2 separate regions of the Homo sapiens genome follow, and region 2 is linked to region 1. Evidence: promoter capture Hi-C in human tissues and cell types (Jung and others, 2019). All regions are on one chromosome and are shown on one strand. Each heading gives the region's core, a stretch centred on a gene start or on the middle of the fragment in contact. The rest is flanking DNA. Distances are from core to core; before and after follow the strand shown.

What was found. The method cuts DNA at HindIII sites, captures the fragments that hold promoters and counts their contacts. A contact is called where the count stands out against the background at its distance.
Region 2: a contact is called between a fragment that was not itself captured here and the fragment with the promoter of RTP1 in region 1, in 2 of the 25 tissues and cell types used here (spleen and stomach).

Annotation. Positions count from the first base shown.
Region 1 is chr3:187,195,900-187,202,877 of GRCh38, reverse strand. It overlaps RTP1 (receptor transporter protein 1), which reads right to left and starts at 5,392. Exons shown (of 2, transcript NM_153708.3): 1 at 5,091-5,392; 2 at 1,416-3,327. The coding sequence starts at 5,362. The coding sequence ends at 2,808. It overlaps LOC101929106 (a long non-coding RNA gene), which reads left to right. Exons shown (of 5, transcript NR_110052.1): 3 at 2,765-3,650; 4 at 4,176-4,351; 5 at 4,848-5,788. The HindIII fragment of the contact is 12,407 bases long and covers 1-6,978 here.
Region 2 is chr3:187,528,710-187,536,184 of GRCh38, reverse strand. It overlaps LOC105374262 (a long non-coding RNA gene), which reads left to right and starts at 241. Exons shown (of 6, transcript XR_007096211.1): 1 at 241-347; 2 at 813-899; 3 at 5,968-6,033; 4 at 6,868-6,967. The HindIII fragment of the contact is 4,379 bases long and covers 1-3,592 here.

The DNA.
Region 1 (6,978 bases), core at 4,143-6,642:
TTTATATGGGCTAATACAGGATGGCACAAAGACAGACTTCAGAATGCTTCATATCATAAGAGCATCTAAGACCCAGAGAGAATAATGACCCCCCCAAAAGTCCCAGCAGAACCCAATTAAAATAAAATGAGGACCCACAGCTCCCAATGCAGTGTTCAGGCCCCTTCACATGACCCCATGCTATCATCTTAAAACAAAACAAAAATAAAAACAAAACGCCGTCCCTACTTCAAGTACCTTAATTTAAACTGATTTGCTCTGGGATATGTAAGTTCAAGACATAGAAAGAATGAGTGGTGAAGTGAGAAGGAGACTCCGAATATCGTCACAAGCATAATATGCTAGAGAGGTGAGGATCTGGCTGGAGATGGCTCAGCTTATTGGTTCATTTATTCATTCAATACATTTTTATTGAACATTTGTTATGCATTCAATAGAGGTGAATGAAATCCATGGAGTCTATGCTTTTTGGAACTTACATCCTAGCAGGGATGAGTAATTATAACAAGTTTTATGAGTGTCCCAGCAAGGGTGGCAGAGCTCAGTGACAAAGACTCTCAGAGCAGAACACAGCCATTGTAGCAGCAAACCTGCAGGAGCAAGGGAGTGTGAGGGACGGTGAACTCCCCAGAGCACAGGCTGGGGGTGAGTAGGGCAGCTAGAGAAAGGGAAGCCGAGCCCCAGTCCTAAAGAATCCAGGGCAAATCATCAAGGAAGATCTCAGGGCTCATTTTTCATAAAACTAGATGCAAAAGGAAGTCTATCCCTCAGTTAGAAGGCATTACACCAGGCAGTACAGGTCGATCACCTGGGTGTTTTATTCTAATTCAGATGCTCAGGTCCCACTTCCCCCAAATTTTGATCCCATTGGTCTGGGGTAGAGGCTAAGTACTTATATTTCTTTAAAATCTCCCCAGAATTTCTGAAGTACAGCCAGGGCTGAAAACTTCTGTAGCAAGCAGAGATGTCTGAGAAACCAGAGAGCACCCCCTATATTCCGCTGCACCCACAGTATTCATTTCTTCCTCTAGTCTGCATATTCTGAACACCTACTGTCTAGCAAGTAAATCAGGACTTGCTAGATAGCAGGTGTTCAGGATATGCGGACTAGATGAAGAAATAAATACTCTGTGAATGAAGTAAAGGAAGCCATCGCTGCTTACTTGAATTCGAGCCAGGATAGGAGTAAAACTGACCTTATGCTGATCCCCTGAATGACTGACTTCCATCCCTCCTGACTGTGGACGAGACTGGCCAAAAACTGGAGCTAGATAGAGCCTTATGTGGCAGTGGGGTCAGGGGGCAGAAGGGAGAAAAGGGGAGACAGGGTGGCGGGATGGAGGGGACCAATAGCTCATTACAGATCTGGGACAGTGGGGGAATCTCAAACACACATTAATGACTACTAAGCCTTATGGAAGATATCCTGTCTTTATTAAAGTGTCCCATCTTTATATAAGTGACCCCCTTCCTCCATCACTACAGATGATGGTGACTTTCTATTAAAGAGGAGAGTAGTCAAGTTTTTAACAGAGGTGGGGTAAATGAGGCCCCTCAAAAGTGCAGCTTGCTGCCTGTCCCCACCAATTCCATTCCAGACCCCCCACTGTCAGAAAGTGTCTCCTCCCATTTCAAGCCATATCACATCTCATTTTAGAGCCTTGTAAGGTTCTCCCACATATCTGTGCACTTCCCCATGGACAAAGCATTTTACATCTTTAACGCCCTCTCTCTTGCTGAAGATACCCCATCCCTGTGGCTTTAGGGGGACAGCTGATCTTTGGCAAGAGGCCTCATGCTTGGCCAATGTGAGAAAGCCATTCAACTATAATTTCAGCAAAGAACCCAGGAGGCCAGGCCCCTGCTCCTGAATTCTGGCCATCAGCACTGCTGAGAATCTGCTAGACTTGGTCCCCGAACTCTGAAGACCCTCCATTATAATGCCTCCCAGAGATTTTGTGCTTTGCTTCTAAAACTCTGTCTTCTGAACCTCCCCTAAATTCTCTGCCAGTTAATACGCAGTGGGTGAGAAGCCTAACTCTATGAGACCCCACCCCAACCACCATCTTTCAGGCAGGCAGACCCCAGAATCTGCCCTGAGTGGAAAGAAGCTGGAATCTGAGAAACAAAAAAAAGAGACCCTGTGTACCTGGCAGCAAAGGAACAGCCTGATCTCCCACCTCTTGCACTTCAAGGGAAACCTCTGCTGCGTGTGTGAAGGCAGAATCACGGATGAGGCTCACAGGGTGGGCAAAGAAGCTAATTTAAGGCTGCAGCTAGAGAAAGTGGGAGATCATGAGGGGCAGGGGTGAGGGACTAATAAGAGCAAGGTCGAGCTCATTACTGTGGAAAGCCCTTTTGAGATCACCCAGTCCTCTAATTTTCAAACTTTTTAAAAGTAGTTAAACTTTTTTTTTTTTTTTTTTTGGTACAAAAATCTTAAATGGAACCCTATCTAAAGTAAAGCTGTTCTGATCGAAGCAAGAGGAGGAGGTAGGAGTTGGAGGATGGGTGTTTAGATCAGGAGTTGGAGACACCCACTAGCTTAGCCTACTTTCCAAATCCAAAAGTCCCTGAGGCACCTACGCAGAACTTTGGGGTCCTGGGTTTCACTATGATAAACCAATGATCTTGCCCAAACCCTGAGTTTTATAGATGGAAAAACTGTATAATTTGTCCAAGATCCCCACTGAGTCAGTGACATCACCAGCGCTAGAAGTTTACACTATTCTCAACCCACGTCTCTCCTCTACCCTCGCATCAGCTAACTGGCACCCTCGACAGGCTCTGGGCCCAACCACGGAATCTTATACGGAGCTACGGAAAGAGAACTGCAGGTAGATGATCAGCAGCAGGACCGTGGCCCAAAACAAGCACCAGGGGATAGAGCAGAAGTTCCAGCCTGAGCCCGTCTGGTCCTGCGACTTGGTGGGGCTGGGCGCCCGGGAGAAGGTGTAGGTGGTCGCCTCCTCCTCCAGCAGCTTCTCGCTGGGCTTCCAGTGCACGATGCCCTCCTGGCAGGCCTCGCAGAACTCTCCGCGGTGCCGCCGGTTGTCCTGGCGGCTGGCCACGTGGATGCGGTACTGGCCGCCACGCTCGCCGTAGCACTGCTCGCGCAGGCTGGTGATGAGGTTGTCCACCAGGCCCTCGATGTTCTCCTCCAGCATGCTGGACTCGTCCAGCCGCGCCGTGCCGCACTCATAGCACAGCTGCTTGAAGACGCGCATGCGCACCGAGCCCGCCCGCTGGGCGCGGTCCAGGAACATGTGGAAGAGGATGACCACGTAGGGCGACTGCCAGGTGTGCCAGCACCAGGAGCAGTGGAACCTGCGGAGACGGGAGGAGAGGGAGGAATAGAAGACGGGCGGAGGTGGTGGAAACAGCCCTAGGAATGGCGTGAGGGGACGTGGAGGCTAAGCAGAGCCTGGAGGTGGAGGAAGTGTGTTGCCGGCGCCCTGGGTTCATTAGCTTTCCCCAGGAAGCCACTCAGCCTTGCAAGTGCCCCTAGGACTACAGCAGGTTCCTCAGGATGTCACCGGGCATCCAGCAGTGCTCTACCTCCTCAGTGCTTTCCAGAGGCCTAACTCCCACCACCCCAGCATTGGGCGTCATTCTTATTCCTCATGGGCAAAATGCGCTTGGTGCACTAGGTGAGTCCTTCCTTCTCACACCAGATAAGAAACACATAATCCATCTGCACATTTCTATCTGTTAACACTGACTGTGAACAGGCTAGATCCAAATTAGGAGAAAATGACACCATTACTAGCTATCAACGTCCAGGCCAGTGTCAGAGTTAATGCATCACAAGGCCTGGAGGTGGAGGCAGTCTGTGCCCAGATCCCCAAGGCCTGTAGTCTCCCAGGCCTGACTGGGGCCAGCTGGGGATTACAGGTCCCCAGCCAGGTCTGGGGCAGCCACAAGCCCTCCCCACTCAGCCCCCACAGCCTTCCAGGTCTTCAAGAAGCTCCTGATCCTGCCTGTAAGTGTCCAGCCCTTGACACCCCTCCTGTCAGCCAGTTTAGGAGCTTCACATTTTCATTCTCTTCTTGTTCACACATCTTTTGGGGACTGTTTCCTCTCTCAGACCAGACTACAAAACCTGGATTGAAAAATGTCGTAACTAGAGGGACCTGGAAATCACCTAATTAATGTTTTCTTTTATGCTGAGACAGAGTGAGAGAGGCATCCATGTACACACAGCTAGAGGCAGAACCGGCGCCCAGCACGTAACAGGTGCCCAGTAATGTTTCCTGAATTGAAGTGAATTGGCTGAACCAGGGCAAGCAGGAAGGCCTTGCTTCTGACTTCCAGGCTGCACCACTCAGCCTCCCCATCTTATGTCTCAAAGGTAAGCCCCTACACTCTGGACCCATGAACAAGAGTGCTAGAAATTCATCTCAGATAGTTTTTACATACTAATCACCTAGAACTCTTCTTGAAATCAGATTCTGATTCAGATCTAAAAGGGGCCCAAGATTCTGCTTTCTTAACAAATTCCAGGTGATGCCGATCCTGCTGCTCTGTGGACCACAGGCTAACCTCTCACTGTGCAAAAGGAGAAAGCCAGGTCCAAGAAGAAAATCGAGTTCCTCAACAGCCATGGAGCCAATGATAGAGCCAGTTTCTGGCACATCTCATGTATTCAATATTTTAAGTGAAATTAAGTTGAGTTAAATAGATTTAAACCGGTCCCAGGACCAGAGCACGGACGTCTCGACCCCCAGTGGGCCTCAAACCCTTCTTCTCTGGTTTTAAACTACTTTTTAAGAGACTGTTAAAATAGAAAATATGTAAAATGTCAGTGTGTAGGACTCATACGTATATTCTATGTCTTTATTTTCCAGACGGAAAAATTGTGACTCAGAGAGGAAGAGTAACACAGGTGATCAGTAGAAGAGCTGAAATCCAACTCAAGTGTCGTAGTTCCCAGTTAGGGACTCTTTCTCTGACTTCCAGTCTACGCCAGCCTAATAGTGAGATTGAAGCTAAACACTTGGGTTCTACGTAATCTTCCTCTCCTTGGAAGGTGCCCCAGAGCTAGGGACCTAGAGGCGGCCTGCAGGGATCCACCTTCCTGGGCTACTCACCTGCCTGAAGCATGCAATTCCAGGTACTGCTTCCAACCAGGGCTCAGCACATTGTGCTTGAGGTTGGGGTCTATGATGAGGTCCCAGCTGTCAGCCGGCTTTGCCTCCTCCATCTTCTCATAGAAGACTTTCTTCCACTCATCTGTGGTCACGCTTTTACACATGGTCTCGTCAGTAGTGAGGGAAGGCAATTTCCACCTTAGTGAGAACACGGAGAGTGAGGGTAGGTGCAGGGCAGGGCAGCGCAGTCTCCACGGTCTAAAAATCCTCATCGACAAGACCAGGAGGAAGCAGGACCCAGCTCCCTCCTTTGTCCGCAGTGGAACCTGTTTCCACGGCAACCAGGCAGGTTGCCAGAAGACAGAGCTTGGGGAGGAGGGAGTCTCTGAAGAGGTGTTTCAAGGCCCTGAACTGAGATTGCAGAGGCAGAGTTTGTGGGTCTAAATGATCCAAGACAGAGTGGGGGACCTGACCAGAGATTGAGCTTCAGACCATCTCACCCTGGCCTGGAAAGAGTATGGGGAGGTGAGGACTGGGAACTGGCTCAGTTTCACCTTGCCGTCCCCTGGAGGCATCATCAGCATCTGGCTGCTACGGTAACCATGATGCCTTAGGCAGCCAAGGAGAAATGAGGGATGGGGAGATGTAAATTTGTTAGTAGATGGAGCAATAATAATAAACTCTCTCTCGGCTTCCCCAGCCATCTTGTGACCAGCACTTTGCCATTTTCAAAACACAATTGGAGGTCTCTTAAGTTATGATTACTATTGCTGCAGTACAGATCAGGAGCCTAGGACTCACCTAGCCTATAAATGGCGGAGCCTGTATACAAATTCAAGCTGTTGACCCCAGACCGGTTCATTAATTCATTCATTTCAAACATATCCGAGCATGTGGGTAGGGTTTGCAGACATGTGCCAAGCTCTATGTCAGTGCTTGTAGCTGACTGTGTACTGAATAACTGTGCAATAGGATCCATGCTGCAATGGCCTTGTGCAAGAACAGCCACCTGTGCACAAAGGTAGGAGCATTGCATCAGCCAGGCAGGAGCAGACAAGATTATTTCCAAGCTGATTATAGAAGCGCAGAAGAGGAGCACCACCCACAGGCAAAACAGCCTTTACTATACATGCCTCTGCTGCTATTTTTAATAAATTATTTTTCCTTTTAAAAAATCATATGGGTTTATTCTAGAAAAAATACAAAATATAGATGAAAGAAAAGAGAAGTAAGACTCTTCCATAAAACCCCACCCGAGATGACTACTGTTAACATTACGATATGTACATCCCGCTTACCATTTTTCTGTACATGTACAAGTGTATGTGTGTGTATATACACACACATTCTGTACACCACATACATTCTATATACCACATTGTGACATTTTCAAAAAATAATACGTCATGAATATTTTTCTAGGTCATATTCCGTAGTAGTACATTATGGGCTACCTATATTCTGTTATATGGATAGGCATAATTTATTTAGCCAATCCTGTCTTTTAGGGCATTTTGGTTTTATTTCAGTTTCTCACATTACACTCTTCCCATCTATTTGTATAAACTTGTTGACGAAGCTCATCGCATGCATTAGAAACAACACTTCCTACAATTGGAAAACACGTCTCTTGACTCCACTCTCTCCAAAAGCTTGGTGTGGCTAGCAGAATCTGAGCAGGCTCTTCAAACAGTATGAATTTTGGACAGCCAGCAGATCTTGAAGTTTAGTGATGAAAAAGAGGGACTTAAAATCACCCATCTGATACCAGAAACCATCTTCCAAGTGCTTCTCCTGCCGCTTCATGGATGTTTGATGCCTTGATTTACACTATTTTAACCTCAGTTTATTCATCTTCTCAGTGGGATAATAACAAAACAGTATCTGC
Region 2 (7,475 bases), core at 154-2,653, 340 kb before region 1:
CCCAGGCTGGAGTGCAGTGGCGCAATCTCAGCTCACTGAACCTCCACCTCCCGGGTTCACACCATTCTCCTGCCTCAGCCTCCTGAATAGCTGGGACTACAGGCACCCACCACCACGCCCGGCTAATTTTTTTTATATTTTAGTAGAGACGGGGTTTCACCATGTTCGCCAGGATGGTCTCGATCTTCTGACCTCGTGATCCACCCGCCTCGGCCTCCCAAAGTGCTGGGATTACAGGCGTGAGCCACCGCGCCCAGCCAGAACTTGATCATTTTATTGCCCCATGTGTGGCAGAGGACAGTCCAGGGAACACCAAAAGGATTATTACAGCATGAATTATTCTAGAGGTAGCAGCATCGGGACAAACTAACTTCTCTTAGCCACACTATTACCCATTTCTTGGTGATGAGGCAATCAGAAATGAATGCCAGAACCTCTTTGTATTCAGATTTACATTTCGGTCAACCATAGAGAAAAAGGAAATAGTTTTGTATTTCTTTGACTTAGTTTGGTCAATCTTGATCAAATTATCTTTTGCCTTTATAAAATCCTGAGTTTACAAGTCTTCTGGGTGTAGACATAGATACATATTCAGACTGGTGGGCAGTCCAAATGTGAGAATTTTATTTAAAATCTTGGCCCTCAGCTGGGCAACCATAGATTGCTATACGCCTTAGAGAAAATTGACTAAGTCAAGAGTTATTTCTGTCTTACTGAGCACCAAGCCTGATACATTCAGTTTCCTCTCCTTTTCTTTAAGCACCACAAAAGAAAAGGTTTCTTTTGATACGATTTATTATGGTACTTTTCAGGTGGACAAGGAGTGACACAGGGTGGAGGAGTCACATCACACTTCCTTAAATCAATGTCTTGTCATCAAACTCTCATTGCATGGGAACGTAAGTAGTGGGGCTTAGGCTATGAATATAAAGAAATGTCTTCTCAATAAATAACTCCTCCCAGGTGTTAGTACCATCTTCTGGAGTTGAAATAAGCCTTTGTTTTATGCCTTATGCTAGAAATAAAAGTCCTAACATCTTTAAAAACTCAACATACTATTTTCCTTTCCATTCTTCTGAGCTAAAGAAATAAAATGAGTTGTATGGGGCAGTCATAAGCTGGTTCTGATTTTAGGGCTAACAATATCTAAGCAGATGTCTGGAGTTAGACATCTCTTAATTTTCTTTGAGCCTCAGTTTTCTCATCTTCAATAGGAAATTGGGAATCTCAGTCCAATAATTTTTTTTTTTGCAAAAATCAAATGAGATTTCGCTCCAAAGGCAATCTGCAAAGTAAATTGCTATAGGAGAATAAGTATTATTATTATTAAGATCCATTTTATTAAGACCAAGTATACAGTTTCTAGGTAGCAAAGAGTCCTTATGGTTTGGTGAATAAATGGCCATTTGACTAAAAGACTATTTTCCTCCTCTTTTATTCCCCATTAGGGGAAGTTAATTTCTTTGGAAGCAACAATGCTCACTTGAAATCCTTTAAAGATTCTCCATTTCCTATGAATCAAGTATAACCTACTCATGTTGCCAAATCAAGGCATTCATAGTACTGTCCAAAACTCTTTTTCAGGACTTATATTTCAATATTTTCATTATACCTAACAAATAAGGTGAACTCACCTGTCTCTGTTCTCCGACTCTACCTTAGATGTCCTTCTGTGAATTTTCTCAAGCTGCTTCCTTAACCCAGGAAACTTTCCCATCAATCTTTCCTTAATTATATTTTCTATCTTCTTAAGGCTCATTTTTGAAATAATATTCTTCATGAGGCTAATTCAATAATTCCCTTCCAGACATGAATTTTATTTCCTTTTCTAGGTCCTTATTTTTCTTTTCCCATCTCACCAATCTCTTCCTGTCCCCTGGTTCCTCCCTGTGACCCAAATGTCAGCTTAGAGTCTCTAGTTTTTGATATTCAAATGAAGAGACTCCTGTCCCACACTACATGCAGTGAGACTGATACATTCCACCTTATTCACCGGTTATGGGAGGAGGAAGGATGATGATTTCTGCTATCTTTAGTTGCCTATGCCTCTGAATCTACTCAAGATAAATTCAGATAAGTTAGCATAGTTTGTAGTTTGTCTTGTCATTGTACACAAGATGTCCTGGCTCAGCTTCGGATTGCCCCAGGCATGGAACACAGCTTCCTTTCCTTATTTTCTCATGCCCTCCACCCTCAGCGCTCCCCAGGTATCACTCACGTTAGGAATGTGTGGTGGAGCAGAGGACCAGAGATAAGGAAGGCACAGAGAGAAACAGAAAGCACTTGAGAGCTACAGGAGGATCCCCTCAAATCCTGAACATTAACCTGCGCATACGTTGGGTGAAACTCCTAAGGCTGGACATGAGGTATTGGTAGAGCCTTTGAAAGGACATGCTGTAGTAGTAAGGCTAAATTAATGCCAGAGTAAATGCTGATCTGTACCCATTGTAACAAAGCTTAAAAGAAGGATTCAGAATAATCGAACCAATCTGCAAGTAATTTAACTGTGTGCCATAACAAAGACCAACACTCTTTAAAGAAATACAACTAAATCACAAAACCAACAAATACATGAGACCTGACATCCAATAAAAAATTTCCCAGCATGCAAAAAAGAAACATGAAAATATAACCCATAATAAGGAGAGAAATAAATCAATAGAAAAAGACTCAGAAATGACATTAATAAAGGTAATAGCAGACAAGGAACTTGAAATAGCTATTATAAATATTCAAAAAGATATATAATAAAACATAAACATGATAAAATACAAGATATTTTTAAAATATCTAAATGAAACTTTTAAGATGAAAAATATATCAAAAATGAAAAATACGCTAGATGAGATTCAGAACCATTTAGACACCACAGGAAAAAAACAGTAAACTTAAAAACATAGCAATAGAAACCATCCAAAATGAAGCACATATAGAAAAATAAAGACTGAAACAAGTGGACAAAGCTTCTGTGAGTGTAGGATAATATAAAGTTTTCTAAGATAAGTAAATTGGAGTTACAGAAAAAGAAGAGAAAGATGAATGACACATAAAAAGATCTGAAGAAAGAACAGCTAAAGGTTTTCCCCTCAAATTTGGTTAAAACTATAAGTTTACGGATTACGTGTTTCAGTGAACCCCAGGCAGACTATTAAACACACACGCACACACACACGCACACACGCAAATCATAATCAAATTGGTGAAAAGCACATAAAAATTTAAAAATATTAGCAACCAGAGAATACAGGGACATTATACAGAAAGGAGCAAGGATAAAAATTACAGCAGATTTCTTGTTGAAGATGACATAAGCCAGAAGGCAGTGGAGTGGGATGGAGAAGTCAATGTCCATTTCTACACCCAGAAATGAAACCTTCTGAAACAATGAAAGCTGAAAGAATGTGTCACCAACAGAACCTGACTACGTACAAGTCCTTAAGGGAAAAATCACACCTTTAATCTGGATTATTTCTCTCTTTCTATGATTGTGTAGTTTCCTCTATCAGACCCAGCAATCCATGTTTTATGTTGGTGGTTCCATGTTACTTCTACCAACAGGTACAACATATGTTGCAGACCTGGCCACTTATCCTGAGGTCAGGTTGGTTAATTTCCAGGATGTAAACCTGTATCTGAGTGTTCCTGGCTTCCTACTCCTGCAGATACACAGAACCCTCTGGAGGCCACACTCAGTGTCATCTTGTTTTACCCTATCCCATAGGCAGGTGATCCCTGCTTTAGGCAGTGCGCATGGGATCCACACATGGTCCTCTTTTAGACCTATTCTCTATAGAAACAGACTTTCAGCTATGACGGCTGTTTCCAGATTCAGAGCCTAGCATCCCTGGATCTTGTACCCTCTTTCCTACCTCCCATTTCATCCAACTTTTCTCTTCCTGGGTCCTCTTCTAGGTGAGTGGCACAAAAATGCACCTGCTATATCACACTGAAACCTGAGACTCAGCTTGACTCTTCCAATTCCACTGTGTGACTAACGGTTTTCAAACTTCTCTTGAGTCTGTCAATTTCTCTCCTTTTTCTTACCAGCCACCTTAGCTAATTCCCTCCCATTTTTTAGCTGTAGCTCAACAGTGCCTCCTGGTCCTCCCACATCCACTCAACTCATTGTCCAGTGATGCCATAGTGACCTCCTTGGTTCAAATCTGATGACATCACTCATCTGAGTAATGTCTCTTCATTCTCTTTAAAGTAAAGTTGAAGCTTTTTAAGATCTTTAATCAGCTCTTTTTTTTTTTATTGCTGCAACCTCATCTCTCATCATTTGTTGCCTCCAACTTTTACTGTGACCATTAAACGATGAAAATTTCTGAATGTTCCATGTTCTCTTTTGCTTCCAGGATTTGCAGAAATTGTTCTGCCTTCTTGAAGCGTTATCCTTCTTCATCTATTGAATGTGTCATCACCTCCCCAGTAAAGCCTTTCCTGATCTCCCTAGCCTTGATTAAGTGCTCCTACTCTGTTCTTCAGCTTGTGTTGCACTGATTCAGGTGGTGCTAATTGCACTATATTTACTTCTGCTTCCACAAATAAAACTGTGAACAACTTGAGGGCAGGAGCTTTCCATCACCTAGCATGGTATCTGATACATTGTTGGTGCTCACAGAGATTTGTGGAATAAATAATGGCCATTAAGTATTAACTTAATGTCATTATTAATTCTTATAACCCCACCACACCTATCACAGTGCCTGGCACATATTGATCACTTAGCACATTTAGTAACATTAAGCAGCCATTGATCACTTACTATGTATCTCACATATTATAATGCCCTTTTGTAAATGTGATCTCATTTAAACTTATCAGCCCATCCCTCCCTAAATAAAGCATGTTTTATTATCCTCAACTAAAAGGTCAAGAAACTAAGGCTAAGAAATATTACATAGCTTTCTCAGGGTCAAATCAACATCAGAAATGGTGTTCAAGCCCAGCTTCTCTTTCCAGTTGAAGAAAGTACCTGTCCAAGAAAACTCTGTCCAAACTGATCTTTATCAGGTTTATTTAAGGGAAAATAACTGAATGTCTTTGCTATATATTTCCCCAGTAAAAAGCAGTAGAAAAAGAAAGAAGCAAAATAATCTAACACTATGAAAACAGAACATTTATTTCCAGTACATATCTATGATGTCTATCAAAATGGAATGTAATTCTGAGAAGAGCCAAATTACAATTCTTATATGATTAAGTCTTTATCTGCAAGCATTTGACAGATCCTAAGAATCAACCAGGTAAACTGATGTAACAGTACAATGTCTTTCTTCAGTGCATTGAACTGGAAAAAAGTACTAATGAATGCTGATCATGATTTTGACTCCTGATTAGTATACAGAATGTTAATGTTTTCACAGTCAAGAGACAGATTAGTATGTATAGGTGGCTTAAGTGGCTATCTAGCTGGTGTTGCTAGGATTGGCTAAAAAAGAAAACTCTGAATAAATATTTCTCACATAAAACATTATCTGAATGTCTACTCAGAGGGATTCCAGTCAACCATTCTTTACAGTAGAGACTTTATATGAAAAATCCTAATACAACACTCCCAGGAGGCTGTGTGATGGAGAGAAAAGCATCCTGGCTTTGGAGGTCTGTTTTCCCTCTCTGCTAATTACTTGTTCTGTGAACTGGGCAGGTGACTCTTGCAACACAACCAATAGAGTTCTTTTCTCATCTGTGAAATGAGGAGTAGGACCACAGGACCCCTAGTCTTGTCAGCATTACCACTGCTGTGGATTTAGGGGTGATCTTATCACTGCAGTAGGCTGACCTCTCTGGTTCCTCCCCTCCTGGATTTTGATACTCTAATTCACTGTCAACAGTGCTGTGTGGCCCACGGGCTGAGCAGTAGTTGGGTGGTAGAACCGTGGAACTTACAGGAATCAGGGAAATAGTAATTATTTCTATTTATTTCTCTCCACCCCTTTTTGGCATTCAACATGGATTTCGAAGTTTTTGTCAGCTAAGAAGCATTTCTGGTCTTCACTGAGCCATAATTTCATCATCTTTAAAGTGGAGGTAAATAATACCTACTTCTTAGTCTCCATCACAGGCTTCTTTTGCCTTACCTTAAATTACTAGTGAGGTTTTAATGGGGAGTGCATTTGTGACAGTGCTTAACAGAATGCATGGCACATTGAAGGCAGTGCAGGAAGTCAGTTTCTCAATTCTACCTTTGCTTTTTTAGAGTAGCCTAAAGATCAAGTAAACCAACATCCTCACCCTGATACCAAACTCGGCCTATAGAAATGTGTAATGCCTGACTTTTGATGGTTCCTTTGCCTGGAGAAATAAACCAATTATATTTTCCTAACTCAACCACCTCTCAATAAACATCCTTCTGCAGAGCATGATTTCTCTCCTGTGTGTGGGAGTGGGACAGCATCTAATTAGATCTAGGTTCCCTTAATGAGAAGCTGCCCATATGTACTCTCAGCCTTGAATTGCCTGCCCTGATCTGGAGCTATCTACTTGGCCAAGGCTCCAACTGGTGCTTTCTGCCACCAAGAAATCTTAAACAGCTAGGGCTAGAGGATCTAACGACAATGTCAGTAGCGGCATCTTACTTCATATGGTAGATAATTATAACATTCATTCAGAAAAAAAATAAAGAGGCTTGTTGTCATAGTGATGGCTAATTCTCCAAGTTGGATGCATAGCTCCAATTGGAGCATCTGCCAGCACAGAGACACACATCAATTTGTTGTGTATGCTGCAGGAATAATTGAGATTATACTTGAAAGAAAAAAATTTGACATGGACAGGATTTTCTGCATTCATGCTGTATTGCATTCTCTTGTGTATGACGATGGTTTTCCTCTTATCTCTATTTTTCTTTTCCAAAAATATTAGTTTTCAGGGACTTGGTTATACTCCAGGAACCAGTGATGATATTGGCTCCTGATATCCAGGAAGCTTTGAAGGCCCTGAGACCAGTAACTGGGATGTTCAGGTAACCAAGCCTGGGAGCCAATAGGACTTTGTCACTTGTGCAATTAGAACAGATCCAGGCTGGGCACGGTGGCTCATACCTGTAATCTCAGCACTTTGGGAGGCCAAGGAGGGCAGATCACCTGAGATCAGGAATTAGAGACCAGCCTGGCCAACATGATGAAGCCCCGTCTCTACTAAAAGTACAAAAATTAGCCAGGCATAGTGGCTCATGCCTGTAATCCCAGCTACTCGGGAGGATGAGGCAGGAGAATCGCTTGAACCCGGGAGGCAGAGGTTGCAGTGAGCCAAGATCATGCCACTGCACTCCAGCCTGGGCGACAGAGTGAGACTCCATCTCAAATAAAATAAAATAAAATAAAATGAATAGATCCAGCGAGAGCCCCTGATTCAAATGGGTGAATTTAGAAACTTTAGAGAAAAAGGAGATATGGGGTCCTTACCCTTCTGATTCTCTTCTCATCTCCATTGCCAGTCCCAGGTTTCCGGCAGATATGCAGCTTATTGTC